Linked DNA regions of Homo sapiens: all the other regions are linked to region 3. The links are contacts of gene promoters, found by promoter capture Hi-C in blood cells and fetal thymus (Javierre and others, 2016). All regions are on one chromosome and are shown on one strand. The core of a region is centred on a gene start or on the middle of the fragment in contact, and the rest is flanking DNA. Distances in the headings are between cores, read along the strand shown. Region 1 overlaps TSG101 (tumor susceptibility 101). Region 2 overlaps SPTY2D1 (SPT2 chromatin protein domain containing 1). Region 3 holds the start of SAA4 (serum amyloid A4, constitutive).

What was found. The method cuts DNA at HindIII sites, captures the fragments that hold promoters and counts their contacts. A CHiCAGO score of 5 or more calls a contact.
Region 1: a fragment that was not itself captured here is called in contact with the fragment with the promoter of SAA4 in region 3 in 1 of 17 cell types (naive B cells); the score reaches 5.1 in naive B cells.
Region 2: a fragment that was not itself captured here is called in contact with the fragment with the promoter of SAA4 in region 3 in 1 of 17 cell types (total B cells); the score reaches 5.3 in total B cells.

What each region holds. Positions count from the first base shown.
Region 1 is chr11:18,506,699-18,510,061 of GRCh38, reverse strand. It overlaps TSG101 (tumor susceptibility 101), which reads left to right. Exons shown (of 10, transcript NM_006292.4): 5 at 397-520; 6 at 3,139-3,205. Among named protein-coding and RNA genes, the nearest start is that of TSG101, 19 kb to the left of the region's middle. The HindIII fragment of the contact is 1,107 bases long and covers 1,432-2,538 here.
Region 2 is chr11:18,615,746-18,619,233 of GRCh38, reverse strand. SPTY2D1 (SPT2 chromatin protein domain containing 1) reads left to right here. Exons shown (of 6, transcript NM_194285.3): 2 at 2,245-2,359; 3 at 3,136-3,488. Among named protein-coding and RNA genes, the nearest start is that of SPTY2D1, 17 kb to the left of the region's middle. RefSeq lists an enhancer at 2,422-3,488. The HindIII fragment of the contact is 225 bases long and covers 2,098-2,322 here.
Region 3 is chr11:18,235,308-18,238,929 of GRCh38, reverse strand. It overlaps SAA4 (serum amyloid A4, constitutive), which reads left to right and starts at 2,128. Exons shown (of 4, transcript NM_006512.4): 1 at 2,128-2,213; 2 at 3,000-3,094. The coding sequence starts at 3,004. It overlaps SAA2-SAA4 (SAA2-SAA4 readthrough), which reads left to right. Exons shown (of 6, transcript NM_001199744.2): 4 at 3,000-3,094. It also overlaps a transcript of SAA2 not described here. The HindIII fragment of the contact is 10,895 bases long and covers 1-3,622 here.

The DNA.
Region 1 (3,363 bases), core at 736-3,235, 270 kb before region 3:
ATTGATGTCTTTTAATGGCCTTTAATAATATTGTGACTGTTGCTCATATTCATCCCTAAATTTGTACCAGTATACTTATAATACATTGTACAGTGGCAATAAAATAAATTTTTGTTAGTTCTGTGGAGTCAAATGAAGAACAAAACTCTATGAATTTTGCAATATGCTGCTTTAACTAGTGCTATTTTTATATACTTGAAGCAAGAACCTTGCTGCACATCATGTTTAAAACCACTTAACTCTATTAAAATAAATTAATTAAATGAAATTTTCATGATTGGGGTCCTACAAAGAAAATTATCAAGCTGAGTTGAAAACCGATGAGAAATGGCTAACCTTTTTCTTTTTACTGAAAAGCAACTCTGTAGCTGACTTGAATTTTTTTTCATTTTGTAGCCACAGTCAGACTTGTTGGGGCTTATTCAGGTCATGATTGTGGTATTTGGAGATGAACCTCCAGTCTTCTCTCGTCCTATTTCGGCATCCTATCCGCCATACCAGGCAACGGGGCCACCAAATAGTAAGTAGAATTGAGATTTTACTTTAAAACTCATATAAACAAAAGAGAACAGAAACCTTTGTAAAAAAATAAAGAAAAATAATGACTTCTTTGCTTTTTAGTTTATCAAGCTAGTGGATTTTTTGGAAGTATTCTGAGGCCCCACATCTGCATGTACAGATTCCCACCAAAGACTGGCATTTGGGCTTCCATTTGTAGGTAGAAATCTAAGAATGGTTGTGCTGGATTCCAAAATGGAGGAGAAAGTGTAGAATAGAGCTAGAATTTTTAAAATTATGCATGCTGCAGAATAGCCTTATTTGATCAGCTTGGAAGCACATATAACTTGAAAGGTAGTCTGACCTCTCCTTTCTCTTTGCAACTACAAAATCAGTGTTGTAGATAAGGATTAAGGTCAACTGAAGCGTTCACATTCAGCTATTCTGGGTATACACAATTGGACATCTAGCTCTTAGCTTTCTTCTCTTTCGTACAGCCAATTCATGATTTTACCTTGTGTGGAGTGGTGGGAGCATGGAGAGAGTGTTGCTTCTCCCCTAATTGGAATATATTATCTCTGTTATCTCTATTTTCTTGAATAATTCTTACTGATACTTAAAAATCACTCTGAATAATTGTGAGTTGGTTGTACTTATTTTGAATTTACTAAATCTGCATTGATTTCACTGTGTTTTGAGCTGTGACTTTTTTTTTTTTGGTAAATTTTCTTTAAGATTATAATTAACCAAACTTGTTTATCTTACAAGACAAATTATATGTGCTTTCATTTTTCTTCTGCTGAAAATTATACTTTTTCCTTTTTAATCCATTCTTTCCTGAGGAACATCTTGGTTTATAAGCTGAATGGGAATTTAACAGAAAGAATTTTTGAACCCATTTCTCTTTCCTTCCCTACCTTCCCAGAATAAGCTTGATTTTAGGATTACTATTTCTTTTAGTAAAGGTACTGGTAATTCCTTTGGATTAGAAATTTGTTTTTATCTTATTAAATTCTGTTGACTCTAGTGCCCAAGAGTAGAGTATCTTGCTTAAGTTTGAAATACGAAATATTTGGCCGGGTGTGGTAGCTGTAACCCCAGCACTTTGGGAGGCCGAGGTGGGGGTGGATCACCTGATGTCAGAAGTTCAAGACCAGCTTGGCCAACATGATGAAACCCCATCTCTACTAAAAATACAAAATTAGCCAGGTGTGGTGGTGCATGCCTGTAGTCCCAGCTACTCGGGAGGCTGAGGCAGATGTTGCAGTGAGCTGAGATCGCATTACTGCACTCCAGCCTGGGTGACAGAGCAAGACTCTGTATCAAAAAAAAAAAAAAAAAAGATATCAAATATTTCCTAGTCTCATTACCTTTGTTTATTTGCTCAGATAATATAGCGAGTGACCGCTATGACAAAGGTAACCTTTTCAGAAATTCAGGTAGTCTCCTAAGCAACTTTTTTTTTTTTTTGAGACAGAGTCTCGCTCTGTTGCCCAGGCCGGAGTGCAGTGGTATGATCTGGGCTGACTGCAACCTCTGCCTCCCAGGTTCAAGTGATTCTCGAGCCTCAGCCTCCCAAGTCGCTGGGATTACAGGCCCCCACCACCATGCCCAGCTAATTTTTGTATTTTTAGTAGAGTCGGGGTTTCACCATGTTGGCCAGGCTGGTCTCGAACTCCTGACCTCAAGTGATCTGCCTCGGCCTCCCAAAGTGCTGGGATTACAGGCGTGAGCCACCGCGGCCGGCCTGCAACATTTTTTTTTTCCTAAATTTCTTTGAGTTTTAAATTGACATTGGAAGTGCAGTATTCAAGAAAGAGACCATACTATTGTTACTGTTGCAATTCAATTTTGTACTCAGTCACTGTAAGTCATGTTAAACACTCTAGAGCAGATTCTTTACTATTTTTTTTTGTCAGTTAAGCTCAAGATTAACTTCTCTTTTTCTTCCTCTATGTTGATTAGCCTCTTGGCACCACTGATCTTAGTTCTTTGGCATTCACGTTCTCTTTAAAGAATGTATAAAGTATTCTTTAAGCTTGCTGGGTTTTAACCTTTTATCCCTAGTATTTCTAAGCTTTTGTTTTGTTTGTTTCTTTGTTTTGAGATAGGGTCTCACTCTGTCACCTAGACTAGTTTTTAACAGTCTGGATAATGTAAGTTTTGTATAGGACTTCTCATAGTAGTTTGAAGTCTCTTGAAGTCTTTAAACCAACAAAATCAGCTGTGCTAATTGGCCAACATAGTTATAAAAGAAATATCAAAAGATTTATTAGATATAATAAAGAAGTTACTTTCTAAGAAGTTAACCTTGGACCGAAGAAGGCCAGAATTACCTTCCTCTAAATTTGAAATTGAACTTGCTCTTAGGTAATAGACTTCTTGAGAACTTTAAAAGCTGACCAGGTTGACCTGTTTGCCAGTTCTTTTGGTAGGGATTGTCATAAGTATTGTAATTCATGTTTAATGATTTCAGGATTATGAAAGGGAGAGGTATTTGTTTTGTTTTGGTGCTGAGATTTGGATTTTTTAACTGTGAAATTTTGCTGTGTATTGACAGTGTGATGTATATCTTATTCAGTAGCCTACATATTCAGGCCTTGTATATTATTTTTACAATGTGAAAAAAATTGTTTTTAGCTTCCTACATGCCAGGCATGCCAGGTGGAATCTCTCCATACCCATCCGGATACCCTCCCAATCCCAGGTAATGAAAAACGTTCTTTTGAATAATTGTATTACAAATTCTTCTATTAGATCTAGAATCAAAATAATTTGCTAATTAGGGCATTAAAATAAATTTAATTGCAATTTAGTGGAAGATAAAACTTGGTTTATTCCTGGAATTTATTTATTTATTTATTT
Region 2 (3,488 bases), core at 961-3,460, 380 kb before region 3:
TTGTATGTCTTCATTTGAATCATATTCATGGTGCCCTTTCCACAATGAAAATGTAAGCTCCTTGTGATTAATACCTATGTTTGTGGTTCTTTTCTTGTAAACAAGGGCAATTTTATATATATCTAGTTAGGTTAGCAGTATTACTTCTCCTTTCTCCTCTCCCTTTCTTTCTCCCTTTTCTCCTTTAAATATTGAGCCCCTATCCACTATGGAAAGAGTCTAAAATTAAATTTACAAAGATATGGACTTTAAAGGATCTCACTATGGCCTAGCCAAGGTGACTGGGAAAGAAATCTGGATGCTGTCTTGGGACTTCTCTCTATTAGGGATATGTCACTTCTCAGCATTGCTATCATGCAAGATTTTCAGGTTGAATTAGAGCCTGCTTCCTTGGCCAGCTGCTTTGTTGGCAGACTAATTTAGTTGAAACTTCCAGCCTGTTTCAAGATACGTCGTATTTGGCAGCCTTATAGTAAGCACATATCTTTTGGTTTTCCTCCAAGAATTTCATACATATTTGGGAATACTTTTTTGGTTCCTAAGTTGTTCCTAAGTTGTCTCAATTTGTTCTTGGACATGTTTCTTTTTCTGCTAGCCACAGCAACAGGTACGTTAGATGAGAATGCATCTGCCTAACAAAACAAAAAAAGGAGGATACTTTAAAAATCTTATTTCCTGGATTTAATGTGGAATGGTCGTAGAGGTGAATCATCCCTGGTCTGAATTTATTTTAGCTCTATGTTCGTCATATTTCTCTCATAATAGGTACTTATAAAGTGGAAATATTTTTCCTTTTATAGTTCAAATTAACATTACTTGAGTTTAGTAATTTCTTGATGCAGTTATATAAAAACTGAGGTCCAGAGACTTCATCTGTGCCAGGATAATGTAAGCTTTTTTTGGGTGTTATAGGAACCTGTCTAAAAAGGAGGTTGTGAGGCAAATTAACATTTAGTGAACATAAGAGCTACAGTTAAAGGTTGCTGGGAATTGGGCCTTTATTGCATAGATTTTTTGAAATGCTTTTTTGCTGTGGTTTGCCCCAGCCTTTGTGTGTGGTCAAAGTAAAACCTCAGTGTTTCCGTGTTCTAAGCAAAATAAAACATGTAGCTATGAGTCTCTACTAGGAAATCATCTGGAGTAGTCAGGAGAGAAAATAGTTGTGAGGAGTAGTTTTTTCTGTTCGTTTGAAAAGTTGGACTTTGAAATGCTTCTTTCTAAGGCAGGCTATTTTTAAACTCAGAATTTTATACATTTACTTACTTACTTACTTACTTATAGATTGATGGATTGAGACGGAGTTTTGCTCTGTTGTCCAGCCTGGAGTGCAGTGGCGCAATCTCGGCTCACTGCAACCTCTGCCTCCTGGGTTCAAGCCATTCTCCTGCCTCAGCCTCCTAAGCAGCTGGGATTACGGATGTGCGCCACCATGCCCGGCTAATTTTTGTATTTTTAGTAGAGACGGAGTTTCACTATGTTGGCCAGGCTGGTTGCTAACTCCTGACCACAGGTAATCCTCCCACCTCAGCCGCCCAAAGTGTTGGGATTATAGGCGTGAGCCACCGCACCTGGCCTAAATCAGATTTTTTTTTTTTTTTTTTTTTTTTTGAGACGGAGTCTTACTTTGTCGCCCGGGCTACAGTGCAGTGGCACAATCTCGGCTCACTGCAACCTCTGCCTCCCGGGTTCAAGCAATTCTTCTGCCTCAGCCTCCTGAGTAGCTGGGATTACAGGCACCCGCCACTACGCCCAGCTAATTTTTTGTGTTTTTAGTAGGAATGGGGTTTCACCATGTTGGCCAGGCTGATCTCGAACTCCAGATCTCATGATTCGCCCGCCTCCGCCTCCCAAAGTGCTGAGATTACAGGCATGAGACCCTGAGCCCAGCCTAAATCAGAATTTTAAAACACAAATAATCGATTCTTCTAAGTGGTGATTTCATTTAGTTACCCAGTCCAGGTTCTTTTTTGGAAAATAGCCTGAAAACAGTGTTTCTGTGAATTGTTCATTTATGCATTATTTTGGGATGTTACATGGAAACTTTGTACCCCAAAATCACCATACGTAATAAATAGTCTGAAATTTTATAGCTAAGCTTTATTATGGGTTATATGATCTCTCAATTATTCAGAATAGGTTTCACAGTTAACATTTATACCTCTTATTACCTGGCACAGTGCCTTATACCTAATAATGTATTTTAAAAGTTGAATTGCTTCTAACTTTTACTGTTTTTGTTTTTAGAAAAGGTATAGTTTGGCAGTGGGGCCTCCAAAAAAAGACCCAAAAGTTAAAGGTGTCCAATCAGCAGCTGTACAAGCTTTTCTTAAAAGGAAAGAAGAGGAGCTGAGACGAAAAGGTATGTATCTATAGCCTTATTCTCAATTTTAAAGTATTCCATCTTCACCATCTAGCTTGTACTAAACCAGTGGCTGTCTATAAAAACATAACAGGCCAACAGATTTGGGAGGGTGTGTGTGTGTGTGTGTGTGTGTGTGTGTCCAGGTTAACTGACTGTATTCATGGCTTTACATATGTTACCTCGATCATTTGTATAAACGTTTTCTTTTTTTCTCCCCTTGAAGTAACAGCTTTTTGGGGGTTAGTAGCCATGTCTTCTAATTGGCCATAGTAAGTCCCCAGTAAGAACTCCATTCTTTCTTTAATCTTGGTTCTGAAAGTGTTTCTACCCATTTTGTATTTTAATTTTTATTAACAGAATGCTATCTAAAAGGCTAAAATAGAGATAAGTTTTAAAGTCTTTATTTCGAATAGTTCTACTTCATGCAAATACAAAGAAACTGATTCAATATGTTTAAGTATTCATTGAATCATAATTAATAACAACTACTAAGTGGATACTAATGTTCTCTTAACTTGGTAATGTATTTGGTTTGAAGTATTTTGTATATTTAAAGCTGAAAACCAAGTCTCCCACTTGCTTAGTCATATAGAAAAACCCATATGTCTCCCACTCATTATGTAAAGATGACTCAATTGATACTTGTTCACATGACTTCCTCATTTGATTCCTAGATGTCTTCAAACTGTAACCTGAACGTTGTGTTTTCACTTGAGCATACTGCAATCTTGAGATCTCGAAGTAATAACATATTCTTGTTTTGTCCCTTTTAGCCTTAGAGGAGAAAAGGAGAAAAGAGGAACTAGTGAAAAAGCGAATTGAGCTCAAACATGACAAGAAAGCAAGAGCTATGGCCAAGAGGACAAAGGATAATTTCCATGGTTACAATGGGATTCCTATTGAGGAAAAGTCAAAGAAGAGGCAGGCAACAGAAAGCCATACCAGCCAAGGAACCGACCGAGAGTATGAAATGGAAGAAGAGAATGAATTCCTCGAGTACAATCACGCAGAGTCAGAGCAGGAGTATGAGGAAGAGCAAGAACCTCCCAAAGTTGAAAGCAAACCAAAGGTCCCCCTTAAAAGTGCCCCACCACCCATGAACTTCACTGATTTACTCAGGCTGGCT
Region 3 (3,622 bases), core at 879-3,378:
AAAGACAAACATCACATGTTCTCACTTATTTGTGGGATCTAAAAATCAAAACAATTGAATTCATGGAGATAGAGAATAGAAGGATGGTTACCAGAGGCTGGGAAGGGTAGTGGGGAGGGGGGGAGTGAGGGGAGGTGAGGATGGTTAATGAGTACCAAAAAAATACTTAGAATGAATAAGAGCTAGTATTTGATAGCACAACGGGGGACTATAGTCAGTAATAATTTAGCTGTACATTGTAAAATAACCAAAAGAGTATAATTGGATTATTTGTAACACAAAGGATAAATGCTTGAGGGGATGGATACCCAATTTTCCATGATGTGATTATTGCGCATTGCATGGCTGTACCAAAATATCTCATGTACCCCATAATTATATACACCTACTATGTACCCACAAAAAATTTTTAAAAAGGAATGAAATAAAAACATTTGAGTTTAAGAAAACCACAAAAAAACAAAGTAGGGAAAGCTCTTCAAATACTATGAAATTGAGAAGACAACTAAAGAAAATATTAATAAAGACAAGAACATAAATAATTTCTTTGGCAGAACATAAGCCATCATAATCAGAAGATAAATAAGCTGGGAAAAATATTTGTAACTCATATCCTAGATAACATACTCATTTTCCCTGTATATAAAAAGTTTCTCTAATGTGATAAATAAAAACACAATAAACCAGTAAAAAATGACTACTTTGATATGAAGGTATGAATTCACAATTCCTAGAAAATAGAAATAGCTCTTAAACATGTGGAAAGATGTGAAACCAAAATCATAATAAGAGAAATGTAAATTAAAATTACTTTGAGTTTTATTTTACTCACAATTTCAAAGACCAAAAAGTTTGAGAGTATACTGTGTGAGAGACAATGTGGAACCAAGTTCTTTCACTCATTTCTGGTGGGAGTAGAGATTGATACAGCCCTCATGGAAGGCAATTTGCAACATATAAAAATTTATAAAATCTAGGGCCAGGGACGTTGGCTCATGCCTGTAATCCTAGCACTTTGGGAAGCCGAGGTGGGCAGATCATTTGAGGTAAGTGGGTCGAGACTAGCCTGGCCAACATGGCGAAATCCCGTCTCTCTTAAAAATAGAAAAATTAGCCTGATGTGGTGGCATGTGCCTATAATCCCAGCTACTCAAGAGGCCGAGGCAGGGGAATCTCTTGAACCCCGGAGGTGGAGGTTGCAGTGAGCTGAGATCATGCCACTGCACTCCAGCCTGGGGGACAGAGTGAGACTCTGTCTCAAACAAACAAACAAAAAATTTATAAAATCTGATACTTTTTCACCATGGAGTTTCTTCTGTAGGAATTTATCCTAGAGATATATTTGTACATGTGCAAGAGACATATGTACAAGGTTAATAAATGCACCATTATTTGTAATATCAAAAGGTTAATAACTGTCAAAACAGCCATTAATATTGTATAAATTATGGTCCATCCATGCAATGGAATACTGTGTAGCTGTAAAAAAAAAAAAAAAAAAAGCAACAAGCCCGACATGGAAAGACTTCCAATAAATAGTAAGTTTAAAAGAAAGTGCAGAATAATACATATTTATATGAAAAAAGAGTTTTTATGCCTCAAAGGCCTTCACCCTTGATCTTCTGGTGTTATTCCTGTCCTTGTATTCTCCCAGAATCATTACCTCATCCCATGAATGGTACAGTCAAGTCTTGCTTGTTCTGTGTCCTTACATTCTTTAGAGAGAAGTCACAAGAGACAAGCAAACATCTCTTTTGCTAATAATATTGATCACTTCCTACAGCATAATATCTATGTGCAATTTTTTGGGAAGACCTCCTACTAAACAGTTAAGAATGGAAAGACACAAAGAGAAGAAAGTGGAGAAAGACCTCTGTCTTCCCACACTGGATTTTGCAAATACAACTCTTCTGTGATACAGGAAACTAAAAAGAGGGAAAAGTGGCAATTAAGAAAAACTGCCAGAAAATAAATACCTTGATGACCCAATTTGGAAAACTACTTCTAGATAAGGAAACACTATTACCCAATATGTTAATTTTTAAAATACCCAAAGAATTGAGCAAAAAGGACTTTGGCAAGGCAGGTTGTTGGATTTAAAACCGTTCTCCCATTAATGCCAAAGCCAGCAGAGGTACCAACTATAGCTCCACGGCCAGAAGATACCAGCAGCTCTGCCTTTACTGAAATTTCATCTGGAGAAAGGTCCACAGGTGAGGTTTCTTCCAAGGAGTAATTTCTCTTATTTGACTCTTTTGAGATCCTTTTCTCACATAATTGTCAAATTTCAATTGGAGAGAAACTGTGTTTTCTACCTCATTACGGGGTCAGTGCTGAGGAGAGTAGGAACTCAGGAAATGCTTCTTGATTGACTTTAGTCTGCTGTATTGGGTGACAAATTGACCACAGACCAAATAACACGTTGGAATCCTCTTATTCTTTCTAGAGATCTGGGCTGAGAATTAAGGGTTTATGCTTCTTCTTAAAACCCGTTTCAATCTTTCATGCAGTTATGATTCTCATACAAACAAATGGAAATGGGGAATTAGTCTTTCAAATTCAGTCCTTTGGCTGGCACAGTGGCTCATGCCTGTAATCCTTTGGGAGGTTGAGGTAGGAAGATTGCTTGAGGCCAGGAGTTCGAGACTAGCCTGGGCCGAACATACATACCAAGACCTTGTCTCTACCAAAAAAAAAAAAAAAAAAATTAGCTGAGTGTGATGGTGCACGTTTGTAGTCCTTAATACTCAGGAGGCTGAGGTGGGAGGATCACTTGAGCCCAGAAGGTCGAGGCTGCAGTAAGCCTTAATCATATCATTGCACTTTAGCCTGGGCAATAGGAAAAAAAAAAGAAAGAAAGAAAGGGAGGAAAGAAAGAAAGGAAGGAGAAAGAAAGAAAAGGAAAAAAAGAAAGAAAAAAAGGAAAGAAATTCAGTCCTCAAAACATAGATCTGTGTTTTTTTTTATGATCCTCTGCCCCTGTCTTTCTTTCTCTTCAGCACAATGAGGCTTTTCACAGGCATTGTTTTCTGCTCCTTGGTCATGGGAGTCACCAGTGAAAGCTGGCGTTCGTTTTTCAAGGAGGCTCTCCAAGGTAAGAACTCTGGAGGATGGAGGGCACATACCCAGGATTCATTCTGAGCAGGGGCCACATACTCACTGGATGTGAGTGCTCCTTAGAGAAGCCACACAGAGGTCAGAGCAGGAGTGTGGTTTTCTGTATCTGTTTCTTCCTCTAGGCTGGTCTGATTTATCACCCTCCCTTGGGGTTTCCAGACGAGAGGTTAAAGATGCTTTGGGCCCAGCCTGTACTCTTGGTGTAGAGTGCAGAAGGATAAAAACTTCCAGGGGGTTATCTCCCACTGCGGAAATTTACAGATGGCAGATTTCTCAGGGCATGATGTTTATTTAGCTCATCCACCTCAGGGAATATACTGAGTTCACAATTATACTCCAAGACTGAGACATGCCTAGCAGAGAGTAGAGAAATCCCATCCTGTACCCAAGCAAATGGCCAATGCTTGGGATGCAGAGCTTATGAAAATTAAGCCCTAACTTCTATCCATAAATAAAAAGAGCAAATTTCTACTGATTAGCCACAGGAGGGCTGAGATACGGCTGG